Linked DNA regions of Homo sapiens: all the other regions are linked to region 2. Evidence: promoter capture Hi-C in 16 types of primary human blood cells and fetal thymus (Javierre and others, 2016). All regions are on one chromosome and are shown on one strand. Each heading gives the region's core, a stretch centred on a gene start or on the middle of the fragment in contact. The rest is flanking DNA. Distances are from core to core; before and after follow the strand shown.

The links. Contacts are between HindIII fragments. The CHiCAGO score rates a contact against its expected background, and 5 or more counts as called.
Region 1: a contact is called between the fragment with the promoter of SLC2A4 here and a fragment that was not itself captured in region 2, in 2 of 17 cell types (total CD8 T cells and naive CD8 T cells). The highest score is 7.4, in total CD8 T cells.
Region 3: a contact is called between the fragment with the promoter of DLG4 here and a fragment that was not itself captured in region 2, in 2 of 17 cell types (monocytes and naive B cells). The highest score is 5.3, in monocytes.
Region 4: a contact is called between the fragment with the promoter of CLEC10A here and a fragment that was not itself captured in region 2, in 1 of 17 cell types (monocytes). The highest score is 6.2, in monocytes.
Region 5: a contact is called between the fragment with the promoter of CTDNEP1 here and a fragment that was not itself captured in region 2, in 7 of 17 cell types (total B cells, non-activated CD4 T cells, erythroblasts and 4 more). The highest score is 6.7, in total B cells.

Annotation. Positions count from the first base shown.
Region 1 is chr17:7,280,468-7,283,605 of GRCh38, forward strand. SLC2A4 (solute carrier family 2 member 4) reads left to right here and starts at 1,251. Exons shown (of 11, transcript NM_001042.3): 1 at 1,251-1,500; 2 at 2,778-2,894; 3 at 3,006-3,138. The coding sequence starts at 1,468. RefSeq lists a silencer at 1,215-1,364 and an enhancer at 1,497-2,484. The HindIII fragment of the contact is 20,977 bases long and covers 1-3,138 here.
Region 2 is chr17:7,542,318-7,545,344 of GRCh38, forward strand. No RefSeq gene overlaps it. Among named protein-coding and RNA genes, the nearest start is that of TNFSF12, 5.2 kb to the right of the region's middle. The HindIII fragment of the contact is 561 bases long and covers 1,137-1,697 here.
Region 3 is chr17:7,216,084-7,219,206 of GRCh38, forward strand. DLG4 (discs large MAGUK scaffold protein 4) reads right to left here and starts at 1,544. Exons shown (of 20, transcript NM_001321075.3): 1 at 1,035-1,544. The coding sequence starts at 1,064. It also overlaps a transcript of ACADVL not described here. The HindIII fragment of the contact is 10,481 bases long and covers 1-3,123 here.
Region 4 is chr17:7,078,762-7,081,724 of GRCh38, forward strand. CLEC10A (C-type lectin domain containing 10A) reads right to left here and starts at 1,490. Exons shown (of 9, transcript NM_001330070.2): 1 at 1,291-1,490; 2 at 1-124. The coding sequence starts at 51. The HindIII fragment of the contact is 6,420 bases long and covers 1-2,963 here.
Region 5 is chr17:7,249,694-7,252,983 of GRCh38, forward strand. CTDNEP1 (CTD nuclear envelope phosphatase 1) reads right to left here and starts at 2,041. Exons shown (of 8, transcript NM_001143775.2): 1 at 1,502-2,041. The coding sequence starts at 1,603. ELP5 (elongator acetyltransferase complex subunit 5) reads left to right here and starts at 2,522. Exons shown (of 8, transcript NM_203414.3): 1 at 2,522-2,903; 2 at 3,077-3,137; 3 at 3,225-3,290. The coding sequence starts at 2,858. RefSeq lists enhancers at 1,644-2,231, 2,232-2,820, 2,689-2,908 and silencers at 1,769-1,888, 1,959-2,168, 2,939-3,178. The HindIII fragment of the contact is 9,547 bases long and covers 1-3,290 here.

The DNA of each region.
Region 1 (3,138 bases), core at 1-2,500, 260 kb before region 2:
AGGAGGAATCGAGCCTGACTTCTACCATAGGGGTGACTGGGCGGGTAATTCATTGAAATAAGGAAGTTAGGAGGAGGAGCAGGTTTGGACATGCTGATCACTAGAGCTGCCACATCCGGGCGGTAACGAACACCTGGATCTGCAGCTCCAGAGAAGGGCCTGGGTCAGATGTCACTGAAGCCCTATGGTGGCGGAAAGGCGAGAAATAGTGGGTTGAGATTCCAAGTGCAATCCACTGCGGCTCCTCGCTCGCCCTCCAGGTGGCAGCACAACCCTGCGCTTCCGAAGCCCGTTTTCTGAGCCAGACACTCTCCACGCTCTGGGTATTTCGGCTTCTCTCTCCCCACACGCCGACCCTAGGTCGCGCACTTTCTGCCTGGCAGAATTTGGCCGAGGATCCAAACCCGGAGCAGCCTCCAGAGAGCGTGTCGTTCACGCGGCCAGCATATGCTCAGAGACCTCAGAGGCTCAGAGACCTCAGGGCTGGTGGTGTGGTCGGTTGTGACCACTTGTCCCTCGGACCGGCTCCAGGAACCAACCTGGGGAATGTGTGTAGGGGAAGGGCGGGATAGACAGTGCCCGGAGCAGGGAGGCGCTGAAAGACAGGACCAAGCAGCCCGGCCACCAGACCCGTTGTGGGAACGGAATTTCCTGGCCCCCAGGGCCACACTCGCGTGGGAAGCATGTCGCGGACTCTTTAAGGCGTCATCTCCCTGTCTCTCCGCCCCCGCCTGGGACAGGCCGGGACGCCCGGGACCTGACATTTGGAGGCTCCCAACGTGGGAGCTAAAAATAGCAGCCCCGGGTTACTTTGGGGCATTGCTCCTCTCCCAACCCGCGCGCCGGCTCGCGAGCCGTCTCAGGCCGCTGGAGTTTCCCCGGGGCAAGTACACCTGGCCCGTCCTCTCCTCTCAGACCCCACTGTCCAGACCCGCAGAGTTTAAGATGCTTCTGCAGCCCGGGATCCTAGCTGGTGGGCGGAGTCCTAACACGTGGGTGGGCGGGGCCTTTTGTTCCAGGGACTCTTTTCTCAAAACTTCCCAGTCGGAGGCTGGCGGGAACCCGAGAGGCGTGTCTCGCCAGCCACGCGGAGGGGCGTGGCCTCATTGGCCCGCCCCACCAACTCCAGCCAAACTCTAAACCCCAGGCGGAGGGGGCGTGGCCTTCTGGGGTGTGCGGGCTCCTGGCCAATGGGTGCTGTGAAGGGCGTGGCCCGCGGGGGCAGGAGCGAGGTGGCGGGGGCTTCTCGCGTCTTTTCCCCCAGCCCCGCTCCACCAGATCCGCGGGAGCCCCACTGCTCTCCGGGTCCTTGGCTTGTGGCTGTGGGTCCCATCGGGCCCGCCCTCGCACGTCACTCCGGGACCCCCGCGGCCTCCGCAGGTTCTGCGCTCCAGGCCGGAGTCAGAGACTCCAGGATCGGTTCTTTCATCTTCGCCGCCCCTGCGCGTCCAGCTCTTCTAAGACGAGATGCCGTCGGGCTTCCAACAGATAGGCTCCGAAGTAGGATTCATCATGAGGGGGCGGGGCGGGGGGGCACGGGTCCCGCTTTTCTTGGGCTGGGGTCGCGGTTGGGGTCAGCTGGGGGTGGTTCCTGCGCAGGCGCAGGGGGTGAAGGTAGGGGGCTGGCTATTTATACCCGGCCTGGACAACCCGTGACTGTGAGATTCCAATCCTACCAAAAGGCAGAGTGGGTCTGGAGGGCCTTTCGGGGCACAGGCAGCAAGTGGATTCTGCGAGCCAGGGTTCACCCCCTTGCCTAGTAGGCGGCGCGGCGCTCCGGAATCGGGGACACCCTGCCCTCGATCCGACTCGGGAAAGCAGATCCAGGCGGGTCTTGCCCTCCGGGAGCTGTCCGTCCGTCTTCGCTCACGGGCAGTGTTTCGAGGACCGGAGGCTCTCCGTGGGCCCCCACCCCCACTCCTGGCCGCCCTCCAGGACGCTGAACTTTCCCTTGGCCCCATGGTTGGTGGAGGGGCAGAGGGGACTGTCAGCCCCCCCTCCTCCAGCTCAGGTTTCCGCTTGGAGACAGTCTGTGCCGCCAGCGAGCGGCCACCACTGCCACCGCCCCTCACACTACCTTCCTGCCCTCCTCCCCTGGGCATGGCTCTCCCAGGCAGAACCCCTGGACGGCCCTCCCTGCACGGAGGTTAGAGGGGGAGGGCAGGCCACGACGTAGATAGAGAAGGCCACCCCTAGATGACCGGGATGTCCTTTCTGGAACAGCACTTCTTGGTCCTGTTGGGGGCCTCCTGGAGCTGGCTGACAGAACCCCCAGAGGGGAGGGAAGAGGACAGTGGCTGATGATAATAATGCACGTGTTAATTTATGAAACCAGCACTGTCAAGGATATTGTTAACATGTGATGTTGATTTTCACAACACTCTCACAGATAGGTAGGCAAGGCAGGCAACATCACCCCCATCTCACAGAGGACACTCAGGTTCGGGGCAGGGAAGTGACTTGGCCAAGGTCACACAAATCTGAGCTCTTAAGGCCAAGCCTGTCTCAAGGTCACAGAAGAATTTTGAGACAAGTTCTCAAACATTTCTCTGCCTTATGGACCCAAACATCCAGTTTCTCCTTTATGCCCAGGTTGCAGTTCAGCTCCTGTTTACATTGAGATCTTTGTGCAATTCCTAATATGGCCCAGTTTCCCTCACCCAACATGTTGGGTGGAGCCCAGTATCTTCAGGCTCCAGCTGGGCCCGGGCCCCTAGCGGAAGGAAAAAAATCATGGTTCCATGTGACATGCTGTGTCTTTGTGTCTGCCTGTTCAGGATGGGGAACCCCCTCAGCAGCGAGTGACTGGGACCCTGGTCCTTGCTGTGTTCTCTGCGGTGCTTGGCTCCCTGCAGTTTGGGTACAACATTGGGGTCATCAATGCCCCTCAGAAGGTGAGGGCCTGCAGCTGGCAGGGTGGGGGTACCCAAACGAGGAGGACAGGTGTCTCGGGGGTGGTGGAAAGGGGACGGTCTGCAGGAAATCTGTCCTCTGCTGTCCCCCAGGTGATTGAACAGAGCTACAATGAGACGTGGCTGGGGAGGCAGGGGCCTGAGGGACCCAGCTCCATCCCTCCAGGCACCCTCACCACCCTCTGGGCCCTCTCCGTGGCCATCTTTTCCGTGGGCGGCATGATTT
Region 2 (3,027 bases), core at 167-2,666:
GGCGATCACAACACTGCACTCCAGCCTGAGCAACAAGAGTGAAACTCTGTCTCAAAAAAAAAAAAAAAAAAAAAACCAAAACCAAGAGCAAAACTTCGTCTCAAAAAAAAAAAAAAAAAAAAACAGGTCAGGCTCAGGATTGCCCACCCAGCCTTGCAACCCCACCAAGCCCTGCACTGTTATCAGGCTGGGTCCTCTCTTCCTTCGTCCAGAGGGGAATGGAACAGGTATGGAGACAGGATGTCATTTTGGAGACCCAGGTTTGAATTCTGGTGCTTCCATATCTTGGCTTTGGCATTTGAGCAAAATCATTCACTCTTCTATGCAACAAATATTTATTGAGCAACTACTATGGTAAGGCATTAGCCAGGTTCTAGGGAACAAAGATGAGTAAACCACGGTCCCCCCCTCATGACATGAGAGTAGGAGAGTCAGATGAGCCCAGATGGTAACATGATGAGATAGTGGTGTGGCTGGGGCAAAAACAGGCATCTGTGGAGCTCAGAGGGAGCCCCTATCCAGGGAGAGAAGGCCCAGGTAGAGTCTCCTGGGGAATTCCCTTGGACCACCCATTCATTCAACAAATACATAAAGTGCCTACTGTGTGTCAGGCACTAAGCAAGACACCAGAGAAACAATGGTCTACAAGACAGACTTGGCCCCTGAACCAGTAGAACTTCACGGTTGAGTGAGGGAGGAAGACCAGAAGTGCGAGTTGTGAGAAATGCAATGATGGAAACACAGCATTGTCATCGAGACTAACACAGGGGATACATATATGGGACAGGGGACGTGAGGCAGAATGTTGTGATGTTGGACCAAAATTAGAGTGTCCTTGTGAACTTATGCAATATGTATCTATCCTATCTTTGTCTGCTAAAAGTCCTCACTTCCAGGAATGCTGAGTTTACCCGGTGCCCAGATCTTAGTTGCTAAATATCCTTCTCCGTGAAAGGGCACCGTTCCCTGAAGAAATGGCTTCTGATCTCAGGGCTGGTGCTGAGGAAGTACAAGGTGCAGCTGGAACATCTTATTATGAAAGAAAGGAATGGAAGGATGGAAGGAACAGAGGGAGGCAGGGAAGGAGGGGAAGGAAGGATTATAGCATTTCTATATGAAGTCTATTTGTGATACCAAGCTTGGTAATATAATGAATGAACCAGCTTAAATATAGCACATTTATGTTCTTAAAATAACCAGTGAAGGAAACTAGAAGGCAGAATGGTAAGAGGCCAAGGAAGGAGGACTTCAGAATGAGAGTGGGAAACAATCGTAGAGGCTGCAAATAAGTAAGATGAGGGCCAAGGTGTATCTGCTGGATTTAGTACGAGAGAGACCTGTGGTGATGACCAACCACGTGGAGCCCATGTTCACTGGGGAAGTGGGGAGAAGAGGACAGGAGGGTCATCAGTGAAGAGAAGGTAGGTAAAGTCTGGGGAAGAGCCCAGGATGATGGCACACGCCTGTAAACCCAGCTACTTGGGAGGCTGAGACAGGAGGATCCCTTGATCCCAGGAATTTGAGACCAGCCTAGGCAACATAACAGGACCCTGTCTCACATAAATAAATAACTAAACAAACAAACAAACAGATAAATACAGACAGACATACATCTAGGGAAGACGGAGGTGGCAGGTAGAAGTGGAAAGAGAAAGAAGCCCAGGACAGGGATTTGAGTTGTTTGATTGACTGATTAAAGCTTAAATAAAGCTTAAGAATTTTGACCAAAAGTGAGTGTGGTGGTGGCTTGGGGGTGGCATTTAGTCCTCTCTTGGGTCTGTTAGCAACTCATCCTGGTTTTTCCAGAACTGTCCTGGTTTTAGCATTGAAAGTACCTCATCCTGGGAACCTCCTTAGTCCCGGCAAACTGGGATGGTCACTGTCCACTCTCAGGCTGCTACTATCACCATATTCAGTAGTCACTGCCAGACTGGGAAGGCTAGGCCATATTTATTCATTCAACAAACTTTTGCTGACCCTGGAAATACAATGCCTGCAAAGCATACACAGTCCCTACCCTTACAGACTACGTGAAATTCTTTATTTGCATTTAAGTGATTTTTTTTTGAGACGGAGTTTCACTCTTGTCACCCAGGCTAAAGTGCAATTGCACGATCTCAGATCACTGCGACCTCTGCCTCCTGGGATCAGGCGATTCTCCTGCCTCAGCCTCCCAAGTAGCTGGGATCTCGGCTCACTGCAACCTCCGCCTCTTGGGTTCAAGCTATTCTCCTGCCTCAGTCTCCTGAGTAAGGGGGATTACAGACATGCGTCACCACACCCGGATAATTTTTGTATTTTTAGTAGAGACGGGGTTTCACCATGTTGGCCAGGCTGGTCTCAAACTCCTGACCTCAAGTGATCTGCACGCTTCAGCCTCCCAAAATGCTGGGATTACAGGCGTGACCACCAGGCATGGCCTTGCATTTAAGTGATACTAATCAAGCTGGATATCCAAAAAGAAAAACAAAAAAGAAAATGACAAAGCCTTTTTTTCCTTTAGTATCTTGGTTGAAAATGTGAAAAGTAAGAAAAGTGTAAAAAGGCAGGAATAAAAAATATTAGCAGATTTCCTTTCAGTATTTTTCCTGCATGTTTCCCAAGTTACTTCCTATCAGTGTCCTAAAAAATGCAAGTTAATTTTAACTTTGGCCGCAAACCAAGAACAAAAAGGTTAAGTGTATTGAATTAATTTTTCAAGCCAAAGTTAAAGGATCTGAGGATGATCTGCTGTCTCCAAGGCTCCAGTCCCTGTTTTTTTCCTTTAGCAGGTGTGATCACACGCTGGCTGAGATGAGTAATGACTTTCCCTCTCCTCAGCACGCTTGCTGCTGTACAATTTTTTTCTTTTTACAAATTAAAATGCTGCATTCACCTGATAATAAAAATCAAGTAGAGGCTGGGTGCAGTGGCTCACGCCTGTAATCCCAGCACTTTGGGAAGCTGAGGCGGGTGAATCACCTGAGGTTGGGAGTTCGACACCAGCCTGACCAACATGGTGAAACCCCGTCTCTTCCAAAAATACAA
Region 3 (3,123 bases), core at 294-2,793, 330 kb before region 2:
TCGCTGCCAGCCCTGCCCTCCTCCTACACCTTTTCACCCCAGTAACCTCAGTAACTTCGGTCATAAGCCCTCAGGGACCCTTAAATCCAGGTGTCCTCCCCCACCTTGATCCCAAGCGTCAGGGGTATCTGGAACAGTCCCCACATCTGCTCTTCTCCCTCTCTCTTGATCAGGGCTAGATACAGTGTGGGAGGAGATGGGGATATTGGGCACCTGCCTTTGGGCCACCCCCAAATTGTGCACCACCCACCCGGTCCCCCTCCTCAAATCCCCTCTCTCCCTAAGCCTCTCATCCTCCTCCTCAGGGGCTGGCAAGCTCGGCTGCTGCAATCTTCTGCCTCCTATGGGAGTACCCCCAAATCCTTGCCTCACCTGGTCCATTCCCTCAGGTGATCCCATGCCAGGGCCCCAGCCCTCTGACAACTTCCAACTACCTCCATTCTATATGACTGAACCCTAAATTAACAGTTCCCTCAAATTGAGAGAGCATCCCTAAATGCAGCCACCACGAGATGCTTGTTCTAGAGTCTGAAGGCCCACCCCTTCCCTGCCAGCTGACACCCCCAGATCAGTCAGGCACTCACAACCAATAACCTTTACCCCATGCCAGGAGCCCCCCAAAACTGGACAAGGCCCTTGGAAGCCAGCTTTTCCCTGGGGAGGAAAGAGGAACCCCCCAACATAGCCCACCTTCCCACATACACCAGCAGGACTCCCTTATGAGCCAGGCTTCTCCTTAAATAAGTCTCCCTCAAACAGCGCTGATGAACCCCCAAACCCGCCAGGCCCCCCGAACCATGGAATATCCTAAATTTTCCATATCCCTACAGGTACAAAGGGATCACTCCAGGGGGCACCTGTGGCCAAATCCTGCATTTTCTCAGATGTGAACCCCAAAACTAAATTAAGACCCCCAAATACATCTTACTTCTGATGCTGCCACTCCAGGGGCGCCAGTCCCAGATAAGGCCTACTAACCCCTCCCCACAAACTCATACCCTCCCCCCAGTTTATAGCCCCCCCATCATGCTTACCTTGGTTGTCACTATACAGAGACAGTCCATGTTGGGGGGCCTGGCCGCGGCGGCGGGTAAGGGGCTCTGACTTCATCGGAGTTTCGTTCCTCCCCTCCGTGGGTTCTCACCCCTCCCCCCTCCGCACCCCACTTTTGCAGGGGGGGCCAGGATGGGGGGAGGGGTGAGAGGGGAAGGAGGGGGTTGGAGAAGGGAAGGGGAGGGGAGCGTGGGAGGGAGGGGAAGGGGGCCCTAAAAGGGGCTCCCCAGTGGAGGGGAGGGGGCTTGGGGAGCACACCCCGATTCTCAGGAGGGGCGGGGGCACCGGGGGCTGGCAGCCCCGGAGTTCGGGGGCTGGGGCATGAGCTGGGGTGGGGGAGGGGAACTGGATTTCGGGGAGCCCCGGGGTAGGGGGGGGTCTTGCCAAACGGCCAGGGGCTAGGGGCCGTGGCGGGGGAGTGGGGTGGGGGGGTTGGAAACGGCAGCGGCCGAGGGAGCCGTGGAGCCGAAGAGGGAAGGGGAGAGAGGAGGAGAGAGGAAGCAGGGGGAGGGAGGGAGGGAGCTAGGAGCCAGAATGGGGGGGGTGCCTTGGCAGAGTTAACTCCTTCTGTGCTGGCAGGAACCCGGATAATGGGAAAGGAGATAGAAGCAGAAGCACAGAGGCCCCTGAGGCAAACATGGAGACCTGGCCAGCCACCAGCGATGACAGCAAAGACGATGAGGCTGGATTTCATTTCTTAGAGAAGGAAGCATCTATAGTTGGGCTGGGAGCACCCACGGTTATTTGAATACGGGAGGGAGGCCTCTCGGCAGGCGGTAGGGGGTCGGGTGTGAGGGAGGAGCTGAAGGAGGCAATCCCTGGGGGCCTAGTTCTCCCTCAGGTTTCTCAGGGGGAAACCTAAAAAGTTAAGCCCTAGACTCTTTAGTGCCTGAAACTGGGGCAGCCAAAGAAAACGAGGAAGAAAGGGAGAGTGGGTACAGGACCACAGAGAGTGCATTCTCGGTGCCCCAAGTCCCTGGGCCACTGACTCAGGCTTTTGTCAGCAGGGCCCCCAAGATTCCAGGTAATATTAGTGATATTTGGCTCACCCCTCCAGCCCTGCCTGCCCCTCAGGAAGTTAGGCGCTCGCCCCCACCTCCTTACCTGACTCTCTGAGAGGGAAGCCTCATAATAGTCCAGGATGTCTGTCACAGGAACAGAACTGAGTTACCTCCCCACCCCAGGCCTCTCCAGGCACATCACCCCTGTCATCACCGCTGCTGGCTGGCTGGCAAGGGAGGAGCCCTTTCAGCCAAGGCTGGTCCACACTCATGGAGGACACCATAGGCAGGACCCTGCATGGTGCTCCAGCTTGGACCAAATGATCTCTGGGCTCCCAAACAGCCCCCGAAGTTCAGTAATGGCCCTTGGAGGCCCAGGTCCCTCAGAAAACGGGCTACTCACCCAGCAAGGCCTGGAAGAGGTCGCTATGCAGCACTGTGAGGAGTGGGGGTGCCCACCGCAGCAGTGGGGGTGCCAGGAGCCAGAGGGCTGACCTGGGAGCTAGTGAGATGCAAGGAGAATTGGGACAGGGAAGATGCCAACACAGGAAGATGAACACACTGTCACTTCATCTCCCCAGACTGTGCCCTTCACCCCAGCCCCTACGGAAAGATTTGGGGAGAAGGATCTCCGAGCCCCAGCCCCCCACTTCGCTCCCAGACCTCCCCTCCACAAGGAGCCCTGTTTTTCACCTCTTGGTCTCTGGGACATCTCTCTCTTCTCTCACTTTAATCTCCCTAATCCTCCAGGATTGGAGTTGAGCTGCTTCTCCCCACTAAATTCCAGCTGTGAGTAAAGTAGGCCGTCTCTGAGCCGACCAGCTGTCCCATTCCCCCAGGTCCCAAGGCACCAGCACCGCCACCATCTTGCTCCACACACCCTGGCCCCCTCTTCCCATAGGCAGGCAGAACCTAGCCACGCTCTCCTGAGAAGCCAGCAAAGAGGGCCTCCTCACAGAGGGCTCCAGCAGCTCAAAAAGAAGCTGAGCCCAGCTCTCTCTCCTCCTGGGCCTCCTCTCACCCCAATGAGAATTGCAGAAAAAGGGGTAGAAATTGTTTGGGACTTCCT
Region 4 (2,963 bases), core at 240-2,739, 460 kb before region 2:
GACTTTCACCTTATTCTCCAAGTACTGGAAGTTTTCATACGTCCTTGTCATGCTTGGGCCAACACGGCTCTGAGGTTGTCACAGCTGAAATGGAGGCAGGGCCGGCGCCCAGTCTGGGGTGGAGCTGGGGAATAGGAGGTTGGGACTAAGTTGGAGCCAAGGGCAGGGCTGACGTTGAGTTGGGAGATGAGGCTCAGGTTGAGAATGAGCCCAGGGTTAAGACGGAAATGAGCCTGGGTTTGCAGTCGAGTTAGAATTGGGGTCGAGTTGAGTTTGGGAGTGAAACTGGAGGGTAACGTTGGAGCTAAACGCATTGCTAGGACTACCCAGTGGGCCAGTTAATCAGGCAGGACTGGAGGTTGTATCTCATGCTAGGATTGGGGTCAGTATGCACGTTGGAGCCATGGATGGAATTGGGGTTAACTTTGGTGGTGAATTTGGAAACAGAATAGAGTCGAGGTTCAATTTTGGCTTTGGGCTGGTGTTAAAATTCAAGTTGATTCTGGGGTTGGGGTTGAAGTAGGAGCTGGGTGGGGGGCGACAGGTGCGGTGGCTCACGCCTATAAATCCCAGCACTTTGGGAGACCGAAGCAGACAGATCACTTTAGGTCAGGAGTTTGAGACCGGCCTGGCCAACATGGTGAAACCCCATCTCTACTAAAAATACAAAAATTAGCTGGGTGTGGTGGTGTGCGCCTGTAATCCCAGCTACTTGGGAGGCTGAGGCAGGAGAATCACTTGAACCCAGGAGGCAGAGGTGGCAGTGAGCCGAGGTTGTGCCGTTGCACTCCAGCCTGGACGACACAGTGAGACTCAGTCTCAAAAAAAAAGAAAATGTAGAAGCTGGGGTTAGTATTGGGATTAGGGCATGGCTGGGCTGAGATGAAGATAAGGCTGGAAATGGGCCACCAATGAGGCTGAGTCTGAGTCTTAGTTTATTTTTATTTTTATTTATTTATTTTTTGAGATGGAATTTCGTTCTTGTCGCCCAGGCTGTTGTGCAACGAGGCCGTCTCGGCTCACTGCAACCTCTGCCTCCTGGGTTCACAAGATTCTCCTGCCTCAGCTCCCGGAGTCTTAGTTTATGACAGGGGATTGTGGCTGCCGTAACCCAATCTAGAATCCAGTGAAGGGAACAGAGTCTCAAATCTCCACGTAGTAATTAAACCCCACACTGCCGCCTTATATTTATTTTCATTTAGTCCCACCCAAGACCCAAAGTCCCCCTCTCCCTGCTTCCTCTGACATCCCCTGTCCCCTGGGTCTCACCGGCACCGGCAGCACCATTACCTGTGGGAGGTCTGGAGGGTGTGATTCCCACGTTGGTTGTGCTGCAAGGACCAGAGGTGGGACGTCACTCAGAGTTGGGAGCGCTGTGTCCTGGAGAGCTGGGGTAGAGGTGACTGGAGTCCTGCTGGTCTTGGGTCTGAAATCCCAGGAGCCCTATCATCTGGGACATCCCATCTCCTCAACTTTAGACAGTAAATGAGAATGAACAGGGATTAGAACACACAGAGACCATGTGTGGGTGGGGAGAGTTGGGTTTGAGGCCAGCTCTGTTCTCCTCCTCCAGGCCATGCCTACTTCCTTTCCTCTTCTCGGAGCTTCCTCATTTTTACCATCTGGGAGCAGGGCTGGATCAGAGGTACAATCTGCTGTTGCTCCTCTACCCTACACTTCCTTTCACTTCCTGCCTCTACATTTCCCAGAATTGTTGGGTCTCCATCATCGCACCTCTGATCCTAGAGAAGCCCAGTCTGTTCTCTTGCTCAATCCTGGCCTGAGTCCCTGGCATCAGCATCCTCTGGGTCCCAGTCATTCGGCTGCTCAGCTGTGGCCTCGCTCGCCTCACTCCACTCGGAAGGAGGGAAGGGGGTGCCAGAGAATAGAACTTCTTGGCCCTAATAGGACGGGAGAAGCCAAGGAAAAGAGCAAATTTTATTGAGTAATCTGTGATAGGATTATGCCAGACATTTACCTTCCACAACCATTCCCCCCAAGCACCTGGGGAGGCATTTTGGATGACGGACTAAAGGCTCAGAGCCCAAGATCACTCACAGCTTGTAAGGAGACAGTTTGGCACCCTGCTCTGGCTCTCAGCACAGGCGCTGTCTTCATGAACAGGATTCCATTTCATCCCATGATCCCTGCTCAACCCCTAAGGGAGCTGCCCTGAATCCACGCGCACATCCCTTTCAGTAGGAAGGAAACTGAGTATCTTACAAGGTGGAGAAGGAGAAGAAATACATTTTAGGTTATATTTTGTATGTACATGGGGTTGTGTTCTGCTATGTGCTTTTTTTTTTTTTTTTTGGAGTTAACAAGCTATCAGGAACATTTCTCCACATCAGTTTATAAAATGTACTTGATCTACCTGCACCTCATTTCATCATAGGCACCGTAATTTATTTATTTAGCATTTCTCTATTGACAGAAATAAATCAGAAATTTAAGTTGTTTCTTTTTCTTTTCTTTTTTATTTTATTTATTTATTTATTTTTTTGAGACAGAGTCTCACTCTGTTGCCCAGGCTGGAGTGCAGTGACACAATCTCGGCTACTGCATCTCCTGGGTTTAAGCGATTCTCCTGCCTCAGCCTCCCGAGTAGCCGAGATTACAGGTCCCGCCACCACACCCAGCTAATTCTTGTATTTTTAGTAGAGAGGGGTTTCACCATATTGGCCAGGCTGGTCTTGACCTCCTGACCTCACATGATCTGCCCGCCTCAGCCTCCCAAAGTGCAGGGATTACAGGCGCGAGCCACCGCACCCGGCCAGGTCGTTGCCAGTTTTGTTTTTATTTGGTATTCGGTATTTTGATTAGTATATGTCGCAGGTTCGGTTTTTGGAAGCCAAGGTTGAGGCTGAATTTGGGGTACAAGCTATTTATTAGGGATTAGCACTTCGAAAAGGAAAGTGGATGAAATGGTGCTGGGCAGAGGGAGAAGCCCAGCACTTTGGAGA
Region 5 (3,290 bases), core at 791-3,290, 290 kb before region 2:
TGAGGTCAGGAGTTTGAGACCATCCTGGCCAACATGGTGAAAACCCGTTTCTACTAAAATTACAAAAATTAGCCAGGTGTGGTGGCAGGTGCCTGTAATCCCAGCTATTCGAGAGGCTGAAGCAGGAGAATCGCTTGAACCCAGGAAGTGGAGGTTGCAGTGAGCGGAGATGGCACCACTGCACTCCAGCCTGGGCGACAAAGCGAGACTGTCTCAGAAAAGAAAAGAAAACCCCAGGAGATAGCCCCACACATATCCCAGCATCTCTGACCCTAAATTTTTCTTGGCTCCTAGCTCTTGTCTCGGGGGAATAGCGCTGCTGCCTACAGCCACAACCATCCTGTACTGTTCGCGCCCTAAATCAGGAAGTGGAAGCAGACTGGTAAAGGACAGAATGAACCCAAGGCCAGACCCATTCTCCCAAATCAGTTAAATCAACCACCACTACCACTGAGGGCTTTCTGGAAATTCTCTGGACCCCAGGTCACCCCAACCTGGGTTTATTCTTTCAAATTGTATTGAGGTATGCTAAGGGGTACAGACCACAGTACAGACCCAGAACCTGTGTCTCCGCTTACTAAATTCTCCCCAGACTCCTTCCGAGGATTCTCCCTGGTGGTGGTGAGACCACAAGAGCACATTCATTTAAAGTGCTGTTAGCTGAAGGACCTCTGACCTTGGAGAAAAGCTAAGGGAGAGGGGACCCAGAGATGCTTGGGTCCATCCGGACAGTTTCCCTCAGAATGCTAGGCTCTCCTGGAGAAGCAAACGTCCTCATTTTCAAGCCCTACAACTGCCCAGCGCTGTCCTCTGACAGGGACACCCAAACTTCAATGGTGGGCACAGCACCCACCTTGAACTCCCTCCCACAATTAAAGAGGCCCATCGTAAAAGCATCTGCTTTAGTCTTCAATAAATCCAGATACCTACACTCACACTATGAAATAAATTTTCACAGCCTTTTTGGAGGAATTCTCTTAATGGGAACCGCAGGCGTTTCTCCTTCACACCCAGGGCTTTCCCAAGTTCCCGTCCTTGTTTGTAACGTATGCCCTCCCACCCACCTCCACCCTTGACACACAAGTCTGTCTCTTCCTTGTTATAGGACCAAACACACACCGAGGTTCCAAATAGGGTCTTTCCCAAGCCCACATCCACAGATCCGGCTGTCATCAAACAGGTGTTCCCCGCCTCTTGGTTTCTTTAGCAACAACTCCAGCTTTCTTAAAGAGCGCCCCACCCACCACCTTAGCCCCCAAGAGTTGCCAAATCCTGTCCCATCTAGCCCCATCAAAACCCCCAAGGGCAAGGTTCTATTACAAGGGTCTCCCACCTCGCCCCGCTTAGGGTGCCCAATTCTCTGGCGAGAAAAGCCCCAGCCAGGATTCCCTTCCTAGGCCCAAACAGAGGCCCGACACTCCGAAAACCCCTGAGCACCACGGACAGATGTCCCCAACACCGCCAGACGTCCCCAACACCGCCAGCGCCCACCCTGGCTCACCGTGCGGATCTGCCTCCGCAGAAGGTAAATGAAGAAGCTCCAGAGCTTGGCGGCGAAGGCCACGAACGTGCGCAGCCCCAGCAGACACTGCGTCCGCATCATCCCGATGACCCCGGCACCGCCGGCCCCGGGGCCCCCGCGGCCCAGCTCCGCCAGCCCCCCGGGGGCAGCCCCCCGCCGCCGGGAGGGGGAACGGGGGCCCCGAGTGGCAGGAGAGGCTGCAGAGAGGGGCACGGAGCGGGCGGCTCAGAAAGCCACCCCTGGCGAGGGTAAAGCCCAGCGGAACGGGGAGCTGGGGGACAGGCGTGGGCAGCCCGCGGGGGCCCACATGGGCTGGGAGTGGCACCGACGGCTTCGGGGAGGTTGCGGGCCGAGACAGGTAGGGCTAGGATGGGGTCCTCCGAGACCTGGAGGGAAGGGGAAGGATAATTGGGGGAGGGGGCAGTGGGGGAGGGGGCTAGGGAAAAGGGAGGAAGGGAAAAGGGAAGGGGAGGGGGGGAAAGCAGAGAGTGGCCCGCTGCGCAGGCGCGCTAGGGGGCTGCTCGCAGGAACGGGGAGGGCGGGGGCAGCGGCGCGCAAAGGGCCGCGGCAGCGGAGAACGGGCCTGCAGAGCGAAGGAGCAGGGAAGGAGGGGGAGGGGGAGCCGGAGGGCGCAGAGCGCTGGGCCGGAGCGGCCTCCCCCTCCCCGAGCTCGGGGGTCCTTTAGCCGCTGGGGACCGGGGCTGCAGCCTCTGCAGCTGGGTTTCCCACTCTGACAGGCGCCATTTTACCGTCCAAAGGACTCCCTCTTCCTGTCTTTCCCCCTCCTCTTCCCCTTTGACACTACTTCCGGTGGTGACGTGTATTCGCTTCACCGGGACTAAGTTCCTCCTGCGCGGTCTATGGCGGGTAGGTATAAGGAAAGCCAAAAGCACTCCAAGCGAGGCTGCAGTATTGCGCACGCGCAGAAGGTGGCCGCGGGGCGGGGCCTGAGGCGAAGCAGGCCCCGCCTCAAACTGCGTGGGCGGGGAGAGTGACGTCACTTGGCCCGCGCTTAGGGCCCTCGCGGGGGGCTTGTGGGTCCTCCTCCCCCTCCCACTGACAACTGCCCCAACTGCTCTTCCCGCCCCGGTCACAGTGAAAATGTAGACGGGGTCGTTGTCCGTACGACTGTGCGCCAGGGCTCGGGGAGGGGCGCCCTCCGCGTGAGCGCCCCCCTGGGAATATTGAACATAATCACCTCTCATTCCAGACTATGTTAGGTCTTAATGGTGGGAGGACGCCCGAGTGCTCGGCCCGTTTCACCCCGAGGAGGAAGGACACTGGGTCATGACGCCATCAGAGGGCGCCAGAGCAGGGACCGGACGCGAGTTGGAGATGTTGGACTCGCTGTTGGCCTTGGGCGGCCTGGTGCTGCTTCGGGGTGAGAGCCAGAGGCACGGTGGCGGGGCGGGGGGTGCGGTTCGGGCCTGGCTGAGGGGACGGAAGTGGGCAGGAAGGGCCAGGGGTCACAGGCTAGGTGTGGAAATCGCGACGGGTTCGCGAAGGCGGTAATCCCAGCGCTCTCATACCCTTTATCCGTCCCTCGCTCTGCAGATTCCGTGGAGTGGGAGGGGCGCAGTCTCTTGAAGGCGCTTGTCAAGAAATCTGCACTGTGGTGAGTATCCCACAGTGTCTCCCCGGCCTACCCTGGATAGGGCACCTGTGCCCACTCTTTGACAATCCCTTCTCATCTCTGCCTTAGTGGGGAGCAAGTGCATATCCTGGGCTGTGAAGTGAGCGAGGAAGAGTTTCGTGAAGGTTTTGACTC